5 separate regions of the Homo sapiens genome follow, and regions 1, 2, 4 and 5 are each linked to region 3. Evidence: promoter capture Hi-C in 16 types of primary human blood cells and fetal thymus (Javierre and others, 2016). All regions are on one chromosome and are shown on one strand. The core of a region is centred on a gene start or on the middle of the fragment in contact, and the rest is flanking DNA. Distances in the headings are between cores, read along the strand shown. Region 1 overlaps ALG5 (ALG5 dolichyl-phosphate beta-glucosyltransferase). Region 2 has its middle 12 kb from the start of SUPT20H. Region 3 holds the start of CCNA1 (cyclin A1). Region 4 overlaps SUPT20H (SPT20 homolog, SAGA complex component). Region 5 overlaps ALG5 (ALG5 dolichyl-phosphate beta-glucosyltransferase).

The links. The method cuts DNA at HindIII sites, captures the fragments that hold promoters and counts their contacts. A CHiCAGO score of 5 or more calls a contact.
Region 1: a contact is called between a fragment that was not itself captured here and the fragment with the promoter of CCNA1 in region 3, in 8 of 17 cell types (M0 macrophages, naive B cells, erythroblasts and 5 more). The highest score is 11.6, in M0 macrophages.
Region 2: a contact is called between a fragment that was not itself captured here and the fragment with the promoter of CCNA1 in region 3, in 2 of 17 cell types (M1 macrophages and total B cells). The highest score is 8.4, in M1 macrophages.
Region 4: a contact is called between a fragment that was not itself captured here and the fragment with the promoter of CCNA1 in region 3, in 1 of 17 cell types (M0 macrophages). The highest score is 7.8, in M0 macrophages.
Region 5: a fragment that was not itself captured here is called in contact with the fragment with the promoter of CCNA1 in region 3 in 5 of 17 cell types (M0 macrophages, total B cells, erythroblasts and 2 more); the score reaches 9.1 in M0 macrophages.

Annotation. Positions count from the first base shown.
Region 1 is chr13:36,966,412-36,969,111 of GRCh38, reverse strand. The region is part of intron 7 of ALG5 (ALG5 dolichyl-phosphate beta-glucosyltransferase); the gene reads left to right. Among named protein-coding and RNA genes, the nearest start is that of ALG5, 32 kb to the left of the region's middle. The HindIII fragment of the contact is 581 bases long and covers 1,035-1,615 here.
Region 2 is chr13:37,070,167-37,072,866 of GRCh38, reverse strand. No RefSeq gene overlaps it. Among named protein-coding and RNA genes, the nearest start is that of SUPT20H, 12 kb to the right of the region's middle. The HindIII fragment of the contact is 897 bases long and covers 981-1,877 here.
Region 3 is chr13:36,431,096-36,433,795 of GRCh38, reverse strand. CCNA1 (cyclin A1) reads right to left here and starts at 1,301. Exons shown (of 9, transcript NM_001413923.1): 1 at 1,067-1,301; 2 at 575-763. The coding sequence starts at 739. RefSeq lists silencers at 1,408-1,567, 1,598-1,647, 1,928-1,997. The HindIII fragment of the contact is 15,627 bases long and covers 1-2,700 here.
Region 4 is chr13:37,012,456-37,015,155 of GRCh38, reverse strand. The region is part of intron 23 of SUPT20H (SPT20 homolog, SAGA complex component); the gene reads left to right. Among named protein-coding and RNA genes, the nearest start is that of EXOSC8, 13 kb to the right of the region's middle. The HindIII fragment of the contact is 1,872 bases long and covers 389-2,260 here.
Region 5 is chr13:36,949,428-36,952,127 of GRCh38, reverse strand. ALG5 (ALG5 dolichyl-phosphate beta-glucosyltransferase) reads left to right here. Exons shown (of 10, transcript NM_013338.5): 10 at 2,071-2,390. The coding sequence ends at 2,186. Among named protein-coding and RNA genes, the nearest start is that of SMAD9, 31 kb to the right of the region's middle. The HindIII fragment of the contact is 3,861 bases long and covers 1-2,700 here.

The DNA.
Region 1 (2,700 bases), core at 76-2,575, 540 kb before region 3:
GGGATCAATCGCAGGAACCACATATTTATAATTCATCTTGTCTCCATCCATCCATTCTTTCAGCTCTAAAACCAAGTGTTTGGTTTAGTGTTCTTGATTCCCACAGAATTGGCTGCCATTCTATAGAAAGAAGGGATAACCTTTGATACTCACTAGAGATCATTGGTTGTCCGCTGCAGATGCTATGACAACTACTGCTCAGTAGGCTTGTTCAAGTCCAGCTTATTCTTATAGAATCATAGCTGTCTCACAAAAGGTTGTCTCCAAGAAGGCACAAGACATGCATCCGCCTCATGTCTAGAAAACTGCAGCATGGCTTTCCATTTCCCTTCGTGTGCTGTCAGTAATAAACCCCTGCATGGTGATCAATCTGTGGACAATGAGAAAATTATAAAAGAACTAATCAAGATAGCAAATGACAACTTCGGTAGCTTATTGCCTAATGTTCAGAAACATCTTTCCTTGATATTTTTCTACATTTCTCAATTATTCTACCACCTCTTTTACTGCTCCCTTGGAAGACAAACATGACACTGCCCTGATAGAGTCTTGTATCATCCTTAAAAGTGCTTACATTCCCATGTGTTCTGTATAACGGTAATGTTTATATATGGTCTGGCTATTCTTGAATTTATCATTTTAAAAGGATTCAAAAATAGAATCCATTAGTGGTTACTTAATGTTTTTAGTTTTTGTTTAAAGAGTCTTTGCTTAAGTCCTGGGACTTCTTTGAACTTCTTATTTTAAGTTAATGAAATTAGAAGTCACCTTTAAATTTCACCTGAATTAATTTCTTGTTTACATTTTATAAACATTGAAGATACTAGCGTTAACACTGAAACAGTGAAAATTGTTTTCCTTAATGTTTTAAATGGCCATTTCAGAAGATCATATAAGCCTTCTCTCTTTTAGTAGCTTCACTTAACTAAATAAGTCTATCCTATATTTTAGGTATCTTCTAAATTTTAAGATATTTTGCAAAGTTCTAAAAACAAAAACAAGATTATCTTGTTTGTGACTAACCTTGTTAAGCTTTTAAATATGTTAGAAATCAAATAACTTAAGGTCTTCATGTGAACTCTACATTTTTCTGCTTTTTAAAAAATAGCCATTATCCTAAAGCAAACAAAAATCCTGTTATTAACATCCAAGCCAGAGCAGTCATGAATAGTTTTATTTGCGAACAAATAAGCTCACTCAAATCACATTAAAAATCACTCAAGGAGAATAATTTATAGGTATTGTTTTTCTACCTTTAATTTTTATTTTTCTATCTTTCAATTTCTATTTGTTCCTTTCCTAAGCATAAGTGCTCTTTTGGAGGTTTAATCAGTCAACCAGTATTTATTGGAAGTATTTTGTATGGAAGGCACTGAGCAAGCTGTTGTGAGATTCCTAAAGTATTTTAAGATGAGGTTTCTGCCCTATCTACTTAGAGAGGTAAGACATATTTACATCAACCCATAACTAATGATTCTAGATGATAAATGAGAAGTGCTAGATCATTTTTAAAAGTTTGTTTTACATACCATATAGATAAGTATTTTATTCTTCCTTTCCTTCCTGCCCTATTTAATACATAAGTAAAATTGTGGTCAGGAGAGTAAAGTAAGCTTTCAAGCTTTCTTCCTGTATGAAGAACATTATTGAGTTCCTGTTATTTTCTGTGCCAAACACTTCGCTATATTCTTTAAAATAATCTCATTTAATCCTTATAATAACTTTGTGAGGTAGGCATTATTCTCATTTTATCAGGAAATGGACTTAGAGGGCTGAAGTAACTTGTTGAAGGTCACCCTGCTAATTAGTAACGGAGCCAGGATTCCAATATAGGCCTCCTAGTTTGGTGCTTTTTCTTTTCTTTTCTTTTTTTCTTTTTTTTTTTTTTTGAGTTGGAGTCTCACTCTGTCACCCAGGCTGGGGTACAGTGGCGCCATCTCGGCTCATTGCAACCTGTGCCTCCCAAGTTCAAGCGATTCTTCTGCCTCAGCCTCCTAAGTAGCTGGGACTACAGGCGTGTGCCACCATGCCTGGCTAATTTTTGTATTTTTAGTAGAGATGGGGTTTCGCCATGTTGGGCAGGCTGGTCTTGAACCCCTGACCTCAAGCAATCCACCTGCCTCGGCCTCCCAGAGTGCTGGGATTACAGGTGTGAGCCACCGCACCTCGCCTGATTTGGTGCTTTTTCTTTGTTACTCTGTTCCACTGTGGTTCTGTTTGGTGTTGATGGAAAAAGCCATGCAAAGGAAGAACGATACTAAAAATTATAATTTTGAAAAGCAAAAGCCAAAAGGAGGAAGGGACCTTTATCCCATAGTATGAGATATTAAATGTTCTAATAGACTCTTAATAGGTTGCTTATGTATGTAAGTAACGCATCATTACTTGAGTCTATTGCCTTAACTAAGGAACATTTTAAAAGATCGTGTCTTAAAGAAGCTGGGTATAGTGGCACACGCCTGTGATCCCAGCTGCTCTGTAGGTTGAGGCAGAAGGATCACTTGATCCCAGGAATTTGAGGCTGCAGTGAACCATGACCACACCACTGGACTCTAGCCTGGACAACAGAAGGCGTCTCTGTCTCTAAAAAAAATTTTGTTATTTTATTTTTTAGAAAGATCCTATCTTTTACTAAATCTTAAATGTGAAAGTCTGGAATCCAGTGATAATAATCTTATGTTCTTATGTTTTAAAATGTGC
Region 2 (2,700 bases), core at 180-2,679, 640 kb before region 3:
TGACTGTTGTCCCTCTCTGCAAAAAATAACAAACCCTAGTTATTCAACCACAGGTGTGTGGCTGGCGGCCTTTTCCTGAAGGACACAGACACATAATGTACTATGTGTTCTCATTTATTCATTTCTCCCTCTAGGAAGTATCTCTCTGAGGGCCTACATGTTTATCCCTTTGGACACTGCTAATGTTCCCAGCAGTTAGAAGCATACCTAGTATATTAGAGGCTCTCAGGAAATAGTTATTAATGAATGAATATTGAGCACCAAGATTGGAGTAGGCATTAGAGATGTGTTAAAATAACTAAATGGGAGGCCATTAGACTGAAGTGGCTCTGACACCCTGGATTCCTACATAAGCAAACTGAAACCTAACGGAATTTTAAACTTTATCTCAGCAAATCACAAATGGCCAATTGGGCATTATTTATATTGTCTTGAATCTTTCACTGAAATAGTCCAAATAAGGCAATTGCTCAAACTTTAACCAGACAAATAATTTCTTTGCTTTCACATTCACCTTATAAAAGTTTTTCCTTCAACCTCTTCCAGGAGCCTCTATTTCTGTGTGAGCCCCTAGCCATTCCCTGCCTGTTTCATGGTCACAGTCTGCTCAAATAAACTCTTAGTTTTTAATGTGCCAAAGGTTATGTTTTAATAGATGCAAACGTGAATCAGAGCAAATCCTGGCGATGTTCTGCAGGCAGTGGCCCAGTTATACGAATGCCTGTTCAATAAGTTTGCCTGGATAAAGGAAGAAAGGGGCAAGAAATGAATCAAATTCTACAGTGGGGACCACTACGTTTCTCTGCTTTCAATGCCTGCTTTATTATTCTTTTCTTTTTCTCTCTTTCTTTATCAGGGTCACCCTCAGGAAAAAGTCAGACACACTCCCCTGAAACCACTGCTGGCTGGAGGAAACAGGTTTAGCATATGTCAATGAGAACCACACATGCTATGGAATTTCATGCCAAAGCTATCAAGCTTCCCTTTGACAGCCTCACTGAGAAAACAAGTCAATAGAGATTCATTAATTGGAATTTAGAAACCTTACTTATTTAAAAAAAAAAGGCTGAAAATTATTATACATTACAGAACAATGATTCTCACACTCCAGGGCACTTAAGAATCCCCTGAGGTGTTAAGAAAAAGAGACTTTTTAATTGAAATAAGTTTCTGAATTTATAATAAAATTAGCATTTTGAGATTAAAGTCTTAAGAAATCTAAATTTATAAACTCATAATTTTAATAAATTGAATATTCACTAAAACACCAGCAACTCCAGGTATTTTTTCAAGCCCCAAATCTTCCCTTGTCGAAACAAGGGAATTAGCAATGCACCTGACATTTATCAGGCATCTTTGTAAGTTCTGTTGCCTTTATTATATAAGGGCTCTCTTGCCTTTATAGCCTACCCACCTTCTTCTTTTCCTTGGATTCAGCTATTATCTTTCTGCTAATTATCAATAAATTAATAATTTTGATTAGGGAAATCTCTTTCAAGTTTGGTAATGTTATGGGATCTTTGAGGTGTCCTTCTCCTGGCTGGAAACCTGTGGCTGGTGGAGGCCTTGCCCAAGTTTTGCTCAGCCCACTGGGCTCGTTCTGCCCACTTGGCCTAGCAGGCTGTACTCAGCTCATGCTACTGGCCTGGATCCCACACCTCCAAGGGAGACAGTGAGTCAAGCATGGAGCAGCAAGAGTTGTGTGTGTGAGCACGGGGTCTGGCCACTGCGCAGTCAGACATGCAGCTGCTGCCATGGGGCGGGCAGCTCCAGATGCCAGCATAGGCGCCGGCTCTCAGTGAGGCTGCAGCTGGACAGGGCGCACCACAAGGAGCTTCCCTGGCTGGCACCAGGGAAAGCAGTGGTGCCTGGAAGCTTGGAGATGCCAGGAACCACAGGGCCTCAAAGAAGGAGTCACAGCCCTGGCTCAGGGAGCTCCCAGGTCTAGACTCCCCAAAGGGCCACAGCTCTCCTTCTCTCTGCCTGTAACGTGGGGAGCAAGGGGCATGTTTCAGCCCTGTTTGTATTACAGTTCTCTTAGCCTTGCCATTTAGTGGGTCCCAAGTTCTTGTCTTGTGACCAGGAAGAATGAGGTACGCATGCAAGTGAAGGGTGAGCAAGATGATGAAGAGCTTTATTGAGCGATAGAACAGCTCAGTCTCCCACAAGGGGCAGCTCCTTTCCTCAGCCAGGATGTCCCGTCAAGTGTTCAGCTCCTAACTGAGAGCTGGTAGCTCCTCTCTGCAGGCAAGTCGTCCCAACAAGTGTTCACTCTTGGCAGGGAGAGTGGCTCCTCTCTGCAGCTGTTCCTCCCATGGTCCAGCTACCAGCAGAGAGGGTAGCTCCTCTCTGCAGCTGGTCATCCCGTCATCTGTTCAGCTCTGGCTGAGTCCTGGGCTTTTATGGCCTCAGAAGTGCCCGCTGATTGGTCTATGAGAGGCCATGGCGGGTGGCCAGAAAAGCCACCACCTCCCACTCCTATCAACTGGATGGGCAGTCAGCCCCAAGCCTTCAGGCCTTCCCTGGCCTAACCAGGGACCTGCCCCCTTCTACCCTCTTAACAGCCTGTCTGCCTCCTGCAGCTGTCCATGGAGCCCAGAATGCTCGAGTCAAGGGGCACCTGTAGGCCAGCACCAAGCTGCTCTCAGCCACCCCTCGGCTTCCCCTGTACTCCTCAGTGCCCAAAGTCCGGAGGGGGTC
Region 3 (2,700 bases), core at 52-2,551:
GCCGAGGTGGGCGGGTCACCTGAGGTCAGGAGTTGGTGACCAGCCTGGCCAACATGGTGAAATCCCATCTCTACTAAAAACACAAAAATTAGCCGGGCGTGGTGGTGGGTGCCTGAAATCCCAGCTACTCGGGAGGCTGAGGCAGGAGAATCGCTTGAACCCGGGAGGTGGAGGTTGCAGTGAGCCGAGATCGCGTCACTGCACTCCAGCCTGGCGACAAGAGCGAAACTCCGTCTCAAAAAAAAAAAAAGAAGGAAAGGAAAGGAAAGAAAAAAAAAGGAAAGGAAGAAGGAAGAGAAACAAAGAAAAAGAAAGAAGGAAAGAAAGAGAAAGAAAAGAAAGAAAGAAAGAACGAAAGAAAGAAAGAAAGAAAGAAAGAAAGAAAGAAAGAAAGAAAGAAAGAAAGAAAGAAAGAAAGAAAGAAAATAAATCAATCAACTTTCCTGTAGTCCAGATTCCAGGGTTGTAATACTCAGGGGGAGTTGTAGGTACAAGGGCAAGAGAAAAGCACCTGGCACCAAAGCAGGAGAGCTGTTCTCCACAAGCATCATTCTCAATGCGTCTGAGTCATTACCTGGCCACAGGTCCTCCTGTACTGCCCATTTGCAGTTAGCAGCCCTAGCACTGTCCTCTGCGGGGGATCCTGGCCCAGCGGGGCTCTGGTGAGTATCTGACAAGCATCGGGACCTCGGGCCACTGTAGCCAGCACAACTCCACTCTTGGGGTTGCTGCAGTGCATTGCTTCAGACTCCACGGGCTGCTGCTACCAGGGAAAGAGAAACAGACAAGCTGTTTAGTCGATTCCGTCCACCCCGGGCTCCAAGGACACAGCGAACCTCTAGGAGGGAGAGCACCAAGCAATGGGACTAACACCAATTGCTGATCTTCCCAGTAATTATTGGGGCTGAAAGGGCAGGTGCGACCGCACAGGCGATCAAAGTTGCTCTGAATCAAAACAGTTATTTGAATCCCTGAGGGAGGCTTTTTATCCCAAGACTTCGTGTTGGGCTGGAAGGAGAGAAACATTCTGACAAGCCTCCAAGTCGGGATACTAAACCCACGTTACCTGGAAGACGAAATCTGGGAGCCCCGGTCCTTCCCAGCTGAGATACTCTTCTCCCCAGCCCCCAATAAAAGATCCAGGGTACATGATTGCGGGAAAGCCGGTCTCCATCCCAAGTGACGAGCAGGGTGCTGCGCTGCGGCCTCCTCCCACCAGACAGGAGGCCCCAAAACCTGCCTGGACCCCAAAGCGGGCCCCGCTCTTCCCGTCGTTATCTTTCTATGTGTCCGGAACAACTGGCAAGTGCACTGGAGGATCGCGGTTAAGAGGTGGCCGGCTGGGCGGGGCAGGGCGGGGCAGGGTTGGGCAGGGCCGGGCCGGGCCGGGCGGGGCAGGGCGGGGAAGGGCAGGGAAGGGCAGGGCACGGAAGGGCGGGGCGGGAAGGACCAAGTGTCGAGGGATTCCAGCCTGGGAGGCGGCCGGGCTTAGCGATGCGGCTGAGCTGCCCACCCGCGTCTGTTGAATCGGCCAATCAGCGGCGCCCCCGGACCTAGCGGGAGCGTTTCCATGCCGACCGCGGCAGGCGTGCGCTCTCCGGGGCCGCATCGCCATGGCGACCTGCTCACCTGACTCGCTCCGGGTGGACTCGCCGCGACCCCTGGGCGTTCAGGCCCCTGAGGGCCCAACGGGCGACGGCCCTCCAGCTCCAGCTGTGCGTCTCCGCCCGGGCGAGGTGGGGCTGACCGCGGCCGTCTGCACACGTCCCCTCTGGTCCGCGCCCCCGGCCTGGGAGGGCGGACTCGCCCACCCCACGATGGCCCCGGCTTTGGAAGGGACTGTTTCCGTGACCCGTTCTCCCAACAGCCGCTAACAACCCCCTCTAACGTCTCCTGCGCGGCCCGCTCCTGAGAACCCTGGCTCGGGAGAGCGACGCGGGGTCCTCGGGGCTGCGCAGGCTGCGGCGCCCTGCCCACGCTGGCCCGAGGGCGCGGCTCGCTCCGGGTCGGCTCACACACCTACGCTTCCTGCCGGGAGGCGGCTGGGACGCGGCGGGGCTGCCCCAAGTGCAGTCGCGGCAGTGTTGCGTCTCCATCGCGGGGGTCCTTGCGGGCCGCGCCTGCCCCGCCCGGCTCCCGGTGCATGTGGCCTGCGAGGCGGCAGAGGAGATGTGGGGATTTAGGGTCGCACGTCGTGCTCGAGGTCCCCACGAGAGGTCTTCCCCCGCGGGCTCCTGCGCAACTGCGTGAAGCCGGCCCGGGAAAGCCAAGATTGTGGCCCAGGAAGAGGAAGGAACGCGGGCGACAGAGCTGGGGCTTGGGACGTTGAGGGGGTCGGTGGCAGCTCTCCGGGCTGGGGGCCGGGCGGGCGGCCCGGCCGCGTGGGGAGAGGAGTCCCTGGGGTCCTTATACGGGGGGCTCCTGGAAACCCGGGGGCTCAGACGCCTGCATAGGTGACTGACAAGCCAGGTGAAATAATCGAACTTTATTTTTTTAAAAATAATATGTATATATGCACACACACATTACCAATGCTATAGTCTGTTACTACTTTTGCTTTTTTTAAAACATCCATCCCTAAATCTCTAAATCAGATCCAAAGTCTATTCAAATGGCCACTTTATGCAAGCAACGGTTATCACCGTTTTTCTAAGTGTGCGTTATTAACATTTTCACCAAGCAAACTGAGTGTGGACATTG
Region 4 (2,700 bases), core at 75-2,574, 580 kb before region 3:
TTTTCTCTTTTTACTTTTCTTGCCTGTGCTTTTGGTATCATATTGAAGATCATTGCCAAATCCAATGTCCTGAAGCATTTTCACTTGTTTTCTTATAAATGTTCTCTAGTTTTAGGTCTCCTTTAAATTTATTAAGAACTCTTCCTACTGTTGACTTGCTTTATATGTTTTTGAGAAATCTGATGCCAGTCTAATTATCTTGCTCTTGTAAGTTTATTTAAGCAGTTTGCCTAGAGGCCCTGAATGCTTGTCTAATATTTTCACTGGTGTGTGTGTCAGAATTGATTTTTCCATGTTTTTCCTGTGGATCCTTTTAATGTGTAGAGTCACTTCTTTATTTCTGGAATGTTTTCTTGGATGATAGTTTGTAGTTTCGTAAGTGGAAGCTTAGATTATTGTGTTGAGGTCATTCTTTTCTAAAATAAACAATTAATGTTACACATTTCCTTCTCAGTACTGCTTAAGCCACTTTCCACAAATTTTGATATGCTGTGCCTTCATTTTGTTCCACAGAATTTTCTTATGGATTCCTCTTAAATCAGTTATTTAGATATGTTTGATTTCCAAATACTTGGGAATTTTCCAAATATCTTTCTGCAGTTGATTTCTAGTTTAAATCCACTGTGATCTGAAAACATATTTTTGGTTCTTTTAAGTTTGTTGAGGTTTGTTTAATGCTTGAGAACGTGATCTGTCTTGATGAATACTCCATATATGGCTGAAAAAATGTATATTCTGCTGTTAGGAGTGTTCCATATTAGATCAAGGTATTTGATGGCATCATTCAGGTCTTCTATATCCTTTTCTTTCTGTATGTTTTATCAGTTACTGAGAGAAGTGTTGAAGTCTTCAACCAAAACTGAAAATTTCTATTTTTCCTTTTGCTAAAGGTTGTTTTTTGAGCCCATATTGTTAGGTGCATATACATTTAGGATTGTTATTTCCTTGATTAATTTACCCCTTATCATTAATAAATGACCTTCTTTATCTCTGGTAATATTTCTTGTTTCTTTCTTTTGATTAACGTTAGCTTAGTACGTCTTTTTTCATCCTTTTAGTTTTAGCCTGAGTCCTTTTATTTCTTAGTATTTGTTTTCTTCTTCAAGATGTTTGTTTAATCATTATTCCTCCTTGTTTGAATATTCCATTTGTGGTGGTGGCTTATAGTCTACATTAGGTTTGTGGAGTGCTTTGGGGGGAAATTGATATCACCTGTAGTTTTTTTGCATTTTGAGTTTTTTTGTTTGTTTTATCATAGCTCCGTTATGGTGGTGATGTGGTCTGCCTTATTCTGTTGTTCATTTCATGAACTGGGTTCCAAATTCAATAATGTGTCCTCCTTTCAGCTCTGTGCTCTTTTGTCCAATCTTTTATATCCAGGGAGATCCCCTCAAGATAAATGTAACTTTTGAAATGTTTGGCTTGCAATTATATACTGAAATGTTACTTCAGACACTATTTTAGGTGGTACCAAAGGATGTCTTTTGCAGAGCAAAAGTTTTTAATTTTGCTGAAGTCCAAGTTAACAGTATCTTTTCTTTATGGAATATCCTCTAGTTTTCATGTCTCGGAACTCTTTACCTAGCTCTAGGTCCCAAAGATTTTCTCCTGTGTTTTTTTTCTAACAGTTTTATAGTTTCTTATTTTGAATCCATGATCCATTTTCAGTTAATTTTTGTACAAGATGTGCAACTTAGGTCCGTGTTTTGTTTTTGTTTGTTTTTGTTTTCCTATCAGTATCCAATTGTTTCAATACCATTTGTTGAAAAAAAAGAAAACAACAACAAAGAAAAAAAACAGCTATTCTTTCTGAATTGAATTACTTCTGCACATTTGTTAAAAGTCAGTTGGGTCTATTTGAGTGGGTCTATTTCTAGGTTCCCTGTTCTGTTTCATTAATCTATGTGTCTCTCCTTCAGCCAATACCACACTGTCTTGTTCATTGTAGTGTCTTAAAATTGGGCAGTGTTTTCTCCCATACCATTTTTCAAAATTGTTGTAGCTAATGTAGGTTCTCTACCTTTCCATATACATTTTAAAGTCATCTTGTCTATATCTACAAAAACCTTGCCAGCATTTCTAAAAGAATTGAGTTAAACTTGTTGATCAGTTTGGGGGAAGAACTGCCATCTTTATGATGTGAGTCTTCCAGTACATGAACATAGTATATGTCCTTATCTAGACCAAAGTCAATGTTTTGTAGTTTTTGGTATACAAGCCCTGTATATGTTTTCTTAGACTTAAGATTAATACCTAAGCTTTTCTCTTTTTTTTTGAGTAATTGTGAATGGTATTTTTTTTATTTCAGTTTTCACATGTTCATTACTAGTATATATAGTGTTGATTTTTGTATATTGGTCTTGTTTTGTGCCCTCTTACTGGACTTACTACTTCTAGGAGCTGTTTTGGAGATTGCTTAGGGTTTTCTACCATATAGACAGTTGTGCCATTTGAAAATAAGGACAATTTTATTTTTTCCTATAAAATCTATATACCTTTTATTTCCTTTTCTTGACTTAGTCTGCTGACTAAAAGTTCCAGCACTATGTTTATGTTACAAAGGGTGTTTTAAGCTTTAAAAAATTGTTTCAGTGAAGCTTTATAAAAGCCTTAGGCGTTATCTAGGTAGCATTAAACAATAAATACAGATGCACTGAAAAATGAAGTTTTCTTTGTTCAAATACCATAAATTTATTCTTG
Region 5 (2,700 bases), core at 129-2,628, 520 kb before region 3:
ACCACTATGCAAAGCTAAATAAGAAATAAAAATTTTTTTTATGGCCGAGCACCATGCCTCATGCCTGTAATCCCAGCACTTTCGGAGACCGAGGGGGTGGATCACCTAAGGTCAGGAGTTCAAGACCAGTCTGGCCAACAGGGTGAAACCCCGTCTTTACTAAAAAATACAAAAAGATGGCCGGGCGTGGTGTCAGGCACCTGTAATCCCAGCTAGTCAGGAGTCTGAGGCAGAAGAATTGCTTGAACCCGAGAGGCAAAGGTTGCGGTGAGCCAAGATTGCACCATTGCACTCCCGCCTGGGCAACGAGTGAAACTCCATCTGAAAAAATAAATAACTAAAAGTGTTTTTACTCCAAATGTCCACAGTCAATCCAGAGCCATTTAAAAACTATATCTGTACATATATCCAAAAGTATAAAGATCCCAACTCTATAATAACTTGAAATCTATCATAAATCTTAATAATTCCTATTTTAAAAGGCTTAGACAGCTCTGGCTGTATAGAATTTTAAACATATTCTAGTTTTCTCCTTACCTTAGAATGAACCTAAATTAATTCACAGTGTGGGAGCAGTTAACATAATCAACTGGAGACTTTTTCGAAGTCCAGCTCTTCTGGTGAGAGTCCTTGTTGCAGTAAACCATTATTGCTCTGTAACCTCAGATGTTTAGGGACAGAAAAAGGTTAAGAACCAATCTCGAGATTATACAAACTGTATAGTCTAGGATGAATTCAAACCTCTTTACATCTTGCTGAATCAAACTGAGTTTACAAAATCTTAGCTCATCTCCACAGTAGCTGCCTAGAATCAAAGGGGATTGGGAAGCAGGTCAAAGGATCACTCAGGGGTATCATGATCAACTTTGTTGATTTGTGTTGATCTTTGGCCAACCTAGACTCTATGGGAAGATGAGGTGGGGAAAAGTAAAAGTCCATTTTATGTTTAGTCATTTGCTTATTTGCATTACAGAGATAGTTGTCTTGTAATATGAATTGTAGGTACCTCAACTTCCTCATTTGTGGGATGAAGATAATTTTTGGCCCTGATAAACGATAATGTCTCTACAGTGCTTTGGTGGTAATGTTTTCAGAAGAAAGCTGTCATATAAATTCAGAGCAGTGAAAAAGGTCTTCTTTAAATATAAAGTATAATTAAAATGATAATGAAATGTTAAACCTTCCTCCTGATACTTTATCTGCACGTATATACTATAAGTAATGGTTATAAGAATCTGCTGTGGCTGGGTGCAGTCACTCATGCCTGTAATCCCAGCACTTTGGGAGCCTAAGTTGGGAGGATCACTTGAGCCTAGGAGTTTGAGACCAGCCTGGGCAACACAGTGAGACCTCATCTCTATAAAAAAATTGTAAAATTAGGCAGGTGTGGTGCGTGCCTCCTGTACTCCCAGCTACTGGGGAGGCTGAGGTAGGAGGACTGGATCGTTTGAGCCCGGGAGGTCAAGGTTACAGTGAGCCATAATCGTGTCACTGCACTACAGCCTGGGTGACAGAGCAAGATCTTGTTTAAAAAAAAAACAAAAAAAGAATCTGCTGTGATATGTGGATCAGATATTTAATTAGGCTGGTGTTCTTGTGTAGCCCGAGACAAAGAGGTCTGGACAAAATTATCTTAAGTCTGATCATAGGCTTTATTTTTTATCATTAAGATTGGATTTATGTAGAAATAATCATATTTATCTGTTGTGCTGTATCTTTAGTTGTTTCATATGTAATTATTTTCAGTAATGAGCACTCAGTGAGTAGTTTTTTTATTAGACTTCTAGAGCCCTCACCATATGTAGTCCTTCCTTTCTATAGTAGGGCCGTATGAAATTTTCACTATTTAGATCCTCTCAAGTTTCATTTCACTTCAAGATGTTCTGTTTTTGTTTTTAGAGAAAACCACTCCACTCACTTCAGCTTTGAAATTGTTTAACTTTTTGGTCCATGATTTAAAAAATTAAGGTGCTAAAGGCTCACAACGATCATGTAGACTGACTTTAAACTGATACGTTTTCTGCTGAGTTTATTTAAGCTAATTTGTTTTTAATTATTTTTAAATCACAGGTTCTAAATTAGTTCCATTCTGGAGCTGGCTACAAATGGGTAAAGACCTACTTTTTATACGACTTCGATATTTGACTGGTGCCTGGAGGCTTGAGCAAACTCGGAAAATGAATTAGGTTGTTTGCAGTCTTCAGTTGTGTTCTTATGCTTCAGTGTCACATTTCATTTCATTTGAAACTAAAATTTTAAGTAAAGCTGAAATAAACTTCTTGTCATTGTCTGCCTTTTGATAATTTTAAAGAAATAACTTTCCATAAGTAAAAAATTATATATCTCTTTGGATATAAATGATTTTTAAAAGATGTTTATTTAAAAAGTCAGATTTTCTTTTGTTTGTTTAGCTTCATTATCATTATAATTCTGAGAAACATAATTTTTGTAGACAGAAGCTATTCTTACCCTAAAGTGCCTGCATAACTCTCATGAACTTAACTATAAACTACAATCATGTAACAGTTTTCAGAGATTTAAAAATAAAGCTAGGGTATAAGTTTAAATGTACATAAATTTATCCAAATCAAAGAAACCTATTTCAGCCTATGAAACTTTAGGAAATTATATGTTAAAGGCAAGAATACAGACTTAGTCACAAAGGTGTTCATTTCCTTATAGTCTTACTCATCTCTAGCA